Regions from separate parts of the Homo sapiens genome. Here region 1 is linked to region 2. Evidence: promoter capture Hi-C in 16 types of primary human blood cells and fetal thymus (Javierre and others, 2016). All regions are on one chromosome and are shown on one strand. The core of a region is centred on a gene start or on the middle of the fragment in contact, and the rest is flanking DNA. Distances in the headings are between cores, read along the strand shown. Region 1 overlaps LIN7A (lin-7 cell polarity scaffold A). Region 2 holds the start of LIN7A (lin-7 cell polarity scaffold A).

What was found. Contacts are between HindIII fragments. The CHiCAGO score rates a contact against its expected background, and 5 or more counts as called.
Region 1: a fragment that was not itself captured here is called in contact with the fragment with the promoter of LIN7A in region 2 in 1 of 17 cell types (neutrophils); the score reaches 5.3 in neutrophils.

What each region holds. Positions count from the first base shown.
Region 1 is chr12:80,859,980-80,865,890 of GRCh38, reverse strand. All of the region lies in intron 2 of LIN7A (lin-7 cell polarity scaffold A), which reads left to right. It also overlaps the pseudogene LOC100420442. Among named protein-coding and RNA genes, the nearest start is that of MIR617, 30 kb to the right of the region's middle. The HindIII fragment of the contact is 2,285 bases long and covers 3,298-5,582 here.
Region 2 is chr12:80,934,219-80,940,492 of GRCh38, reverse strand. It overlaps LIN7A (lin-7 cell polarity scaffold A), which reads left to right and starts at 2,559. Exons shown (of 6, transcript NM_004664.4): 1 at 2,559-2,852. The coding sequence starts at 2,771. It overlaps MIR618 (microRNA 618), which reads left to right and starts at 4,660; the gene lies at 4,660-4,757. RefSeq lists a silencer at 3,222-3,431. The HindIII fragment of the contact is 1,862 bases long and covers 794-2,655 here.

The DNA.
Region 1 (5,911 bases), core at 3,191-5,690, 76 kb after region 2:
ATAGGCCACAAACCTGACAGCTTATTGTGAATCCTGGTAACAATTCTTTGACTCACCCAATTTACAGAAGAAACATTCTCTATCCTCTGAAAGGCTGTATGTCCACTTATTTTGAGGAAGGGAACTTATCATCATCTACCTCTCCAGATCACATAGCAATGTCTTAAATCCTTTCCCTCATCTGAGATACAGAGGGAAGCTGCCTGTCCTTTCTCACATAAAACACTATGCACTGGATCCATCATCTTGCAGAGAATCTGTGTCACCTTTCAGCCCCAAAGTGGACATTTCAGCACTGTAACTCCTGACCATGTTTGTGATCACACTACATTGTTGTCTAATATGACAGCTGCTAAACTACCAGTTTCAAGGAAGACCTCCTTGATTTCTCACAGCTATTGTTAATCTCATCCCTCTTCTCCATTGCTCAGTTGTTAGATGTAGGCCTTGATTTCCTACTTCATCTTTAAGTAAGATGATAAAAACTGTGGTAGATATTATATAAGCAGGCATCCTTATTCTTTATCCAACAGCAGGATAGGCCACTCAGTTTAAAAAACAAACCTTTTTTTTAAAATGACAGATGAATGTGCTTTGCATTTCATAGGTCATATCAGTGTAGAATTTCTTTAATTTTGTAATACACAGAGATAACTTGCTTAACAGAGGAGAAATATGACTACACAATCTTATCATTTAAGTGAAAGACTTTTTAAAATATGCATTTAGATAGGCAGTAAGAACATAAAGAAGACACCATAAACTTTGAAACAGGCATGGAATCAGAAGGTTGTTTTTCTTTAATGCTGAGCTATGCTGACAATTATCTCCAATAAAAATGAATGAGCAATGTGAGAGGAATAATCAGTGTCTGAGAGATTCTTTGCATTTACATGAATTGATAGCATTTACCAGATTGAGGGTAAGTACTAATGAAGCACTTCAACCTAATTAAAACTTTCTGAGCTTCCCTTTCCCCCTTTACAAACTAACTTAGATTTTTATAGGATTTAATTTGAAGGTGATGGAAGTACAAAGGCAGATTTTTGCCATCCCCAAAGACAGGTTAATAATGTATTCAAATTCACATCTTCTTTCACTTTGATAAAACTGACCTACTTTCTCTTTTAGAGAGAAAATGTCTTATGAAATATTATTCACATTAAAAAATGTTGCGTTTTGATGCCTTTTTCCATACTATAATTGAACCTGGCATATCACTTCCAAAAGTTAAATGAAGTTTAGTTCATTTTCAGGTCTGGGCTTTTTAATGAGTTAGCATCTCTGCTACTTGAGACAAGCCGCATTCAGTGCTTTGCATGCCAGGGAATTTTTCTGACAGTAGTGATAATGATGCAGATGTTCCTCTTTGCAGGGATTTTCCAACAATGTTCCTAATGAAAACACATGTCTACTTCCTGGCAAATAAAAAAAATCATTTTTCAAAACAAAAAATTCAAATGCTTTCATCCTAAAATGGCAAATGTAAACAGCCATTATTTTCTCCACATCATTTTTGCTGTTTTTTTTTTCAGCAATAAAGTGATTCATTTCTTTTTTTTTCTCATCTTGATATGGAAACAACTTTAACAAAATCTTATGCAGATCCCAAGTGAAGTGGAGATGGTTAGAGCAGTGGGGTCAAGCCTTGCGTATTGAGTCTTGGAGTTGATTTGCCATGTCATCTTAAGCCTTATGTCTGGGTCAGCTGATTTCAACACAGAAATAATAACAGTTGCTGCAAGTATTACGCCCTTAAACTTATGAGTGTAACTTTGTCTTTTGAGACTTCTATAGATATAAATAATGAAAAAATATCTGTATAAGTCATGTTTTAACAAATCTTTTTATTTTAAAAATTACATGAAATTTCACTCAATTCAGTGAGGTTTCTGCAAAAACAAAATTCCAGATACATTTTGAGGGTTGAGTAAATATTTGGTGCTGCCTTTTCTTCAAAGGAACATTTTAATGTTGTTAAAAAAAAACAAACAAACAAGCCTTTCATCATTCATTAGTTAGCTGTTAAAAAAGAGTTTCCAGCTTATATGCAAAAGAAATGTCCTTACCCTATGGTTAAGCATCATAACCCATACCACCAGATGGGGTATAGGATAGGGTGAGGACCAGAGATGTCTGTTGTGTCTATAACTTGATCCTTAAAAAAATGCTTTAAAGTAATTTTTCTATGTTAAGAGGACTATGTCAAAATGCCACATCATATAGACTACATCAAGATATGTTTTCACATGTTACTACCAATGAGGTCATTATGAGTCTTCTTTCTCTCTTCCTTGGGTGACAGTGCCATTATGGTCATTAGGACATATAATTAAACACTCATCAGAATAGAAGGTCAAAGGGCCTGGGAAATCTGGATAATTCAAGCCAAATAAAATCTATGGTTAATTGCGGCTTGGCTAAGTTTATGTGCACCTTTGAAAAGGTGATTATGTGCTCTCTTTCTCCCTTCTTTAAGCCGACACATTGACTGTCTTTTTGTAGATCAAACCTTAGAACTTGATTTAGACTCTACCTCTATAAACAAAGTATGTTTAATTATGCATATTTACTGCCTCTATATCAATTATCTAGTTTAATCTACAAGAAAGCAGAGAACTAAATCATTATTTGTGAGAGTCTATTCAGTCGTTGAAATAATGAACTTGAAATAGAACTCTAATAGAAATCAGCCTTAAGTCAGCATCCTTAATATCTTCTTCCTTTCCTTCCTCTTTCTTTCTATCAAAGCTGCACATGCAGGAGAGCTAAAGCCCATCTTAGGCTACAAATCAGAACCTAGTGATTGTTTTATAGTCTTGACATCCATCTTGTGAAATTAATTATACAGAGCCAAGCGTGGTGCATTTACCATAACTTGAATGTAACAGAACACATGAGAAAAGATGTAATGGAAAACTCCTCTCTGTGAAGAGTATAGTCTGGCATTTTGGTAACAGTGAGTCAGGATGGTGTTAGTAAAGGTAAGCCCAATCTGGAATCTTTAATTCTGTACCTTCTTTTTCTGTAGAAAAACTTGAGTCATCTAATGTATGCACTCAAGTTCCCAGCTGAGGATGAACAAGGCAATGCTCTGCCTTCCTGTTACAACAACTTGTAATGAAGTGGGCTTTTTGCCATCTATTTAGTGCCTTATTCATCACATTGTTGTGCCTTTTCTTGGTGATTTTGCTGTTTCAAATGGCCCCTCATCATAGTGCTGAAGTGCTATCTACTGTTTGTCAGTACACGAAGTTGATGATGTGCCTTAGAGAGAAAATACGTGTTAGATAAGCTTCGTTCAGACATGCATTATAGCGCTGTTGGCCTTGAGTTCAATGTTAGCAAATCAACAATATGTATTAAATAAGATGTCTTTAAACAAAAAACATTCATAAAACTGTTATGAATTGATTGTTGGTGAAAATGTAACCAGAGATTCAGAGAAACCTAACCATGTATTTTCTCTAGAAACAGTGGTTCAGAATTTGCTAATTTAGTCTTTGCAGGGACTTTATACAACATTCCTGCAAATAAAAAGAATCAGTGATAGTCCTTATTTTCAATATAATCAATTGAAGAAAAGAGGTCAGACCTAGGTATACAGTTGTATCACATAAAAGGTTAAGATCCATAATTTTAAAGGATTCCTGGAAATTGTGAAATATGATGAAACTCTTTTTGCAGGCTTTACAGATTACCAAATTGTGACTCACTCTCTGTTCGGTTAGTATAAGCTGAAGGACTTGGTGATAGTTGAGACAGTTATAACCTCAACTATCTGGTAAGTTCTTTGGAAAATAACCAAGTCATCTATTTCTCTATTTAGAGATCTATTTTGAGGGTCACACAACTATTATCTTAAAAGTCTTCAAATGATTCTAATACCATCACATTGATGATGGCTCCTTTAAAATAATCTAAAAGAATATTTAATTAGTGGGGAAAGTGTTCACAATATTTTAAGTGAAAAATCAGGTTACATACAATCTGGTGCAAGACTGGCTTCAGAGACAACTCTCAAAAACCTGCCTCACAGAGCTGCCTGCTCCAGGAACTAGTCATCTTTAAGTCATGTCTGTTTTCTGACCAAGATAATTGCTTAGATTGGTTTTATATCCTCTGGGCTGCCAAGGGCAGCTAGTTGCCCAGGAAATGTGAGATTGTCTGCAGGTTATGAGCAGAGCTCCTCTGGGCACCTCGCTTTGCAACCAAGGATCAGTGGCTCCCTGGGACATCAGTGTTGACTAATTAAGACAAGGAGACAGTCAGGACAGTAAAGGCAGTGGCATCTCAGGGTGTATCTGCTTCTCACTGCAGAGTATCTGCACAACTAAACCTTCCTGAAGAAAACTCACTTTAGTCCAGACCTCCGTTCATGGCCCAGTGGTGGTTGTAGCAGCCCTGGACTCCAGGCAGAAGCCAACTGCCCCATCTGTCGGGATTACATGAGTGACCCCGTCACCATCAAATGTGGGCACAACTTCTGTCACTCCTCCATCAAGCAGCGCTGGGTGGATTTATAGGACAGCTTCCCTTGCCTGTCCGGTGTCACCAGTGCCAAGAGGGCCACTGCAGGAGCAACACCCTGCAGGGAAGGACGACTGAAACTCCCGAGATACTCCACATCACCGGGAACAAAATGAAGAGGCAGGCACCAAAGTGTTGTGCAAGGAGCACTATCGGATCCTGACCCTTTTCTGTGAGGAAGACCTAGAGGTGTGACGTCTCCTGTGTACTCAGCCCTCTGACCACCAGGGTCAGTCACCACTTGAGGCCCAGAGAGAAAGCTGCCTCTCATCACCAGAAGAGGCTCAGCAGTTACATTAAGTCTCTGGAAAGGAAAGTTGTAGACAGTGCAAAATTAGTAGCCACTCAAGATAGAAAACCTTTACAACTGAGAAATAGGGTGAAAAACCAGATACAGACATCCTTCTCTAAATGTGAGCACCTGAACATATTTGCGGATCATGAGCAAGAGGCAGTTCTCTCAAGGTTAGTTGATGAAGAGAAGAATATTCAAAAGAAACTTAATGCAAAGATAGCATTTTCAGATGACATTTCCACAATCAAAGATCTACTAAAGGAGGTGGCAGAAAAGAGTGTCATGTCAGAAATGAAAGTGCTGCTGGGCATCAAGAGTATCTGCAACAGGCATGAACGCCTGAAAACTTCAGCTCTCTATTCACTCCTGTGCAGTTTATCCAGTTGCTCTGGGTTCCAGAATGATGTAGTTTATCCTGTTGTTCTGGGTTCTGAAGACTTTGATTCCTGCCAGCATTACTGAGAGGCTGAAGTGGTCCATTCACCACCCTGAATTAACTCTTGAGGGCTGTAAAGACTCCCTCTTCAGGAAAGGAAAGTGATCTCTATCAGAACAGACAGATGCTGGACAACGGAGCTACAGAATGGTAACTCTGTTGCTTGAAGCACTATTTTAGTCATCCTTCTGCTAAAGGAAAAGGCCAGAGTAGTTGGCATCTATCTGGACTATGAGTTTGGCAACATTTTGTGTTGCAATTTGAATGACTTGTCTCACATCCATTCTTTCATTGATGTCAATTTTTCTGAAATACTAAGCTTTATTTCAGTATTGAACATGATTCTAAACTTCTTGCAGTCTGTGCGGTAACAGATGCAATAATTATTATTGGCACACACTGGGGTGCCAAAACTCTACCAAAGGGGTAATATACCAATATCTATCAACACTGGAAATGCATATACTTTTGACTCAGTAATCTACTTCAATGAATTTATCATAAAGAGATGTTCTCACACTTACAAAACACAGATATTCAAGGTTATTTCTTGCTGTACAGATTGTAAGAAAAAAAAGCACCTCATCAGAGGATTGATTAAATGAATTATGATGCATCCAAATTGGAGTAATATGAAGCTTTAAGTAGAA
Region 2 (6,274 bases), core at 1,310-3,809:
AAGCATAATTACAAATATTTTAACAATTCTCAGGTAAATACACAGCAAAGCAACTGGCATGTGACTAGATCAAGTATATCCCTGCATGTCTCAAAACGAAATTCACAAATATTATTGGAGAGATAGTATTTATTCATAAAAACAAATTCTAATGGATAATGAATTTTTATTAATTTTCTACACCTGTGTAGACATAAGCTAAAGGGAATGAACTTTCCACTACTAAAAATAATAACAGATGAATTTATGGTGATTTATGCTTCCTTTTAATTTCTCTTTTAATCTTGATTTAAAAACAACAACAACCCTACAGAGTCAACACAGAGAAAGAATGACAGAGCAAATTTCAAATAGGAAGCTCAAGGCAGAAGTCCAGAAATATGCTATGAAATGTTTAGTCCTGAGGATGCATTAGGAAACAAAAAGACAAAGAAAACTCTACCTTCACTGACACCACAATCAGGGATTTGTGTTGGAATGGGTACAATTTATGACTTTTGGGCTGATGAATCAAGCTGCTTAAATACATATTCCCTAATAAAGGATGTTGTAAAATAACTACATTAGAAGTCAAGGGATTTGTATGTTCTTTTATCCTCAGTTACCGAGTGAGGTTTAATAACTTTGTGCAAAAGCTTGTAACACACTCTGGTATCATTGCGCTCATCTCAACTTCTTTCTGTTGCTTAATTCAGGGCATGTGAATAACGGTAAAAAACCAAAGTTGTTTTTGCAACCTCTGGCCACCGAGGGCACTTCCTTTTAATAGTGCTTAGAGTACTGCACAGAAGCTTATGGTTTGCTCACTGTCTCCCAAGCAAGACTGGGCAGAAAGGGGGCCATCTCATTAATCTTTGCATGGTTAGCACCTAGCACAGAGCTTACCACACGGTTCCAGGGGATGTATGCTTGTATAAATAAATTTGTATATTCTTTACTGTTTTCAAAGCACAGTCACATGTATGACTCCATTAGACCCTCATAAAACTCTGTGAGATTGCAAGGTAGAATTAGTTTCCTCATATGACAGATCTCTGTGACATTGAATGATATTATTTCCATTGTATGACAGAGGAGGAAACAGGATCAGTGAGAGATTGTGTGACTTCCGAAGAGTACATGACTAAGACTCAAATGTCAAGATCAGCATTCTTTCTTAAATACTAAATAAAAATAAACATATCGAACTACTATTTTAGGTTTGTTCTTAGGGTCTGTTAAGTCTATATATGGCCAATCATCTTTGGCTTTCCCACATTGGTGAAATGTTGTTTTTTAAAATTCAATTGTAGACTATAAAATGAAAAAGACCTTCAGAAATCCTATCTGTAATCAGAAGAAAATGGCATCAATTATATGCAAATATTTTGCTATAAAACAGTATCTGCCTTTTAGAGTTTATTGTTAGCCCAAACAATTCAGCTCTGTCACAGGAAACAAGATGGAGGCAGCTTTGTCATTTCCAATCCTGCACCCACAGTCACCCCTATTCAGCTTATAGAAGGTTTCTTTATGTTTCTTGATTTCGTAGTCAGGAAATGAATCCCTACTATGACAAGATAGTGAAAGTAGCCTTTTTATTGGGGCGAAGAGGTCACAGCCAGTATTTGAAGGCTCTCGTAATTTAATCCTGATCAACTGACTCTAAAGTCAGGTTTTTAATAACACCATCTCCCACTAGATTACAGGCTACAGGAAGTCGGAGACTAAATTGAACTCCTAAATCAAGGCGTGGCACAAGGCAATGTAACTCTTCTATCTCAATTCCTGGCATATATGTTAATCAATCGATAAGTGGCATCTCTGAACCACTGGTTAGAAATCAACATGAAAAGTGCTAGGTACATATTTTTCAAACGTAGTCATAGACAACCAAAATCAGTTTGGACATTAAGAGCAAAGTTTTTGTTGCTGGGTGGGTGAGGGGGAGTGGGGCATGTTTACAGGATGTGGTATGTAAAAAATTCGGAGAAAATCTGAACACTGTACTTGTTTCTAAGCTACATTTACTGAATTGGTAATGTATTAACAGTGGCTTGAAAAAGAAAAACTTAGCGATAGAAACTTACCTACACGTTTTTTATTTTGAAGCACTTTTAAGAGGTTTGCCTTTTTTTTTTTTTTTCTCCAGGCAATATACTCAGGTCCTAAATGAACATCTACTGATGGAACGCTGGCCTTTAGTCAGTTATCTTTATATGCCGTTATAGGTCAACATTCCGAAAAACTTCAACAGAAATTAACTGCAAATGTAATTACATCCCAAACATTTCTGATAATGGAAGCATTTTCTCTCTAAAGGGGATGGGATTATTGGATTGGCAATTTCTCTTAATCTGAGAAAACTCATCTCCCACTCCCTTCCCCATATCCCCTTTCCATCCTCTCTCTTCCCCTTATACACACACGCACCCGCATGCACACACGTATATTCTGACCATTTTATTAGAGTGGAAAGTTGAAAGGAAGCAACCCGCCAGCTACACCCACCCAGCGCTCCTGGGGGTGGAATAGCAAAGTTCTAGGGCAGAGCCTTCCCTCCCAGAGCCCGGCGATGCAGTCGCTCTCGGATACCTGCTCAGCTCCGCACCGCAACTGAAGATCTGCCGCCGCGGAACAGTTGCGTCTCCATCTGGCTACCAACCCACCCAAGCTTTCTTCTCCACCACCACCACCTTCCTTCCTTCCCCCTCCTCCCCCTCCTTTCCGTCTTCCCTCTCCACCCCCGCCCCCAATCTCCTCCTTTTTTTCTCACTACGAGCGGTTGCTGATGCTGAAGCCGAGCGTCACTTCGGCTCCCACGGCAGACATGGCGACATTGACAGTGGTCCAGCCGCTCACCCTGGACAGAGGTAAGGGAGCGGCTCGCTCGCCAGGCCACCGCGTCCCCTCTCCCCTCCTCCCTTCCCCGCCTGCCAATTCCCAACGGGACATGGGACGCGCTCAGGCAGGAGGAGAAGGGGAACGAGGACGAGCCAGGAAGGCGTTCGCGCCGAGAACAGAACACTTTCTTCCCCTTTCTCTCCCCGCTACGTTCCCGCTGCCCCTTCCCACTGTACTCGCCCCGCCGAGGGGACGCCTCCTTCTGGCTCTGGGGTCCCCGCTGCCACTCCCAGCCCCTCGCCGGGTCGTCTCCGGTCCTCTGGCTTTGTTGGAGCCGCTGCGCGGGGACGGCTATAGGCGCCAGGGGCTCGGGGTTGGAGAGGGGCAGAGAGCAAGCTCGCCCGGCCAGAGCCCAGAGGAGACCGGCGAGGGAGCCGCCTGTCAGCTTGCTTGGCGCAGGGGCCCGGGAGGAAGGAAGTTTGTCCAGGCGCCGGAGGGCGAGGGTCGGTCCAACTGCTGGAGTCCCGGCGGCCACTCGGGGGGCGGGCTGGGCGCACCCCTGGGCTGCCGGGCGCACAGTGGCGGGGCTGCAGCAGGCAGGGAGCTGCCCTCTGCCGAAAGGGCAAGGCAGAGCGCGGGGAGCCGAGCCCCAGCAGCCGAGATCGGCTCTCCGCGGCTTCGAGATCGAAAGCGGCGAGGGTCGCGTCTGCTCCCGCCGCCGGCAGCTCCCGGTCGATAGCAACTCTCGGCTTCTCCCGCGCCAGCCTCTCGTGTCCTCTCCCAGCTCGGTGCCACCGCGGCGCCCAGGCTGCGGAAGGCGCGGGGACAAAGCGCAGGTCGGGTTAAAATTCAACTTCTGACCTGCCACCCAGTGAGTCCTGCTCTCTGACTTGAACGGGGAAAGTGTTCGCTTCCTCCCCAGGACGCCCTCACAAGCTCAGGGATGGAGTCCTCCGCTGCGATCGGGGCCTCACTGGTGCACCCCTGTGGGGTTATACCTGTCCCTGAGTGTGTGGGTTTCCTTCCTGGCTCCAGCGTCCAGTGATGAAGGCGCTCGAGTCCTACGGCTCTGCAGAGGAGGACACCCTCTAGTCCCTCTCCGCAGCCGCCGGATTTAGGACCCTGGGCGGCCATTTGGAAATGGTGTACTCAGAAGAAAATGATTTAGTCCGATGTACCTCTAAAAATTTTCTTTCTAGAGGATTAAACTGAACGATGGGCAAGGCAAAAGAACATCCTGCTGAGAGTACAGTAACAAAGCCAGTGAACTCAGTTTGAGGTTTTTAATTTGGAGAGACTGTGGGTGACTTTAACGCAATCTGTTGGCGCCAGAACAGATGTTCTGTGGTGCCCATAGCAACCTTTCTTAGGGTAAGAGTTGAAAAATAAAATGTAATTGATTTTATATTAGAAAATGTTGATTTGTAAGCTGGCAAAATTAATAACAGTAGTTAAAGACCTCAGAAATCCATTGTATAATCCATGATTTTACCCACAATATCATCATCTGCACTAAGCAGGATAAATCCATTGCCGGTAAGAACCAAACAGATGGCAAGCTATCAGAAACTATGAGCTTCCCAAGTATTTATGTTTTAATGTAATGAGCTCTTATATTGTCCCATTACAAAATCACAGTCGTTAAACATCCCAAATCAAGTGACTATGTTAGGAGCAAAAACTCCAAGAAGATTGCATACCTGGGTCATTTTATATACTACCACTACTACTAATAATACAAATATTTCAATGTTGGGTTTTACCTTAGCCCTTAGATGCCTCAGTCGGTTGATGAGAGGAGGTGCTAATCGGACTAAGATTTATTTTTAAAGTTTGCTCTTGTTCACAGCCAAACTCTACTTGTCCTTCTGAGTGTAATTACGTACATGCAGTAGCTCAGGAGACAAGCAGGTTTACCCTGTGGATGAGTCTGAAAAAATTCATCAGCAGCTCATGGAAAATCTATAACCAAGAGATGATGGGTTATTGGCATCACCACTGAGCATAAAGTCAATATATATAAATATTGTTCTCCGTATCTTATTCAAATATGATTAATTACTTTCATTATTAAACTGATGAAGGAAAAGGTTCTAAAAATTTCCCTTCAAAAAAGGTGCATTTTTAAAGAGGCAACCCAGTATTACATATCTGGGTCCTAGCTGCAACTCTGATACTCACTCTGCATACATCAGCCTCTCTGGACATCAGATTCTCTCTGTGCCACATCAGGAGTTTGAATTAGATGATTCTAACACTGTGCAGCTTTAGCAGTCTATAATTCAATTAATTAGAGTTAGGACTCAGTTTTTGGTCACCTACTGGGAGATTTTCCAGATCACCTCTCTCCCAGGCTGCTTTGGTACCCTTTGATGCGCTCTAAATTGACTTGCTGCTTTGGCCCCATTAAAGCATTTATCACACTCTGTTGCATTTGTCTATCCCTATTGGATAGAACTCCGTGAGGGAAGAGACCATTTCTAAATTCATCTTTGAATTCTCAGTGTCTGCTATAGTCCCTGACTCACAGTACAATAAAAAAATAATGTTAAGTTGGTGTAAGTAAACTCAGGATAGCAGTAACTTAAGCAATGTTAAAATATAGTGATTTCCTAGTGAACTGAGGTGCATTTCATAGATTCACAGTATTTTAACCATGGAAAGGATGATAGTGATAACATAGGCCAGAGATTCTCAACCTAGCTTTCCCCTATACACTTGATGGATTGCCGTCAGTAACAATAGCTCACTAAAACTGTGATGTTTAACCAAGAGGAATTGTGGCAGGTGGGCAAAGGAGAGGAAGGGAAGAAGGTGCTTGACAAAGCCTCCCAAGGGCATCCCAGCAAATCTGAATATATAATCCACAATTTTAGAGCTGCTAGTTCTTTTTTGGTATCTTCATTTTACAAATGAAAAAGCATGAAAATGTGATGATAAGAGATATTTTCAAGTTGCTCTACTATTTAGTGGAGATTTTTATATTACAATTGAATTATTTTTGTTTGCTACCTTTTGACATCATACATGGATATAGTCTTCAGGGCAAATGTTTTAAGCAAACAAATCAAAGCTAGGGATCGAAATTAAGATTTACTGCTTTCCAAATTTGAAAGATATATCTGAAAGTAAGAAACTCAGAAGTCTGCACCTAGCTTCCTGGGTCTGCTCTGGGAAGTAAGCTTTTTCAAGGTCTAGGCTGGGCCCCAAAAGGATGAACAAGGTGATTACAGATTTTCATGGCCCTGTGCCTATCCAAAACTCTTTTTGATCTGCCATTAAGATCTGAGATCAACCCTGTAAAGGTCTCTGGGTGGCTATGGTCATTGTAAGTTCTTATTGACTTTGGTCCCAGTCCTTGATATCCTTCACTTAATGAGTACCTATCATAAGCCAGACCCTATTGTGGGATTGGTACACACTGGTGTGATAAAGAGACATAATTCTACTT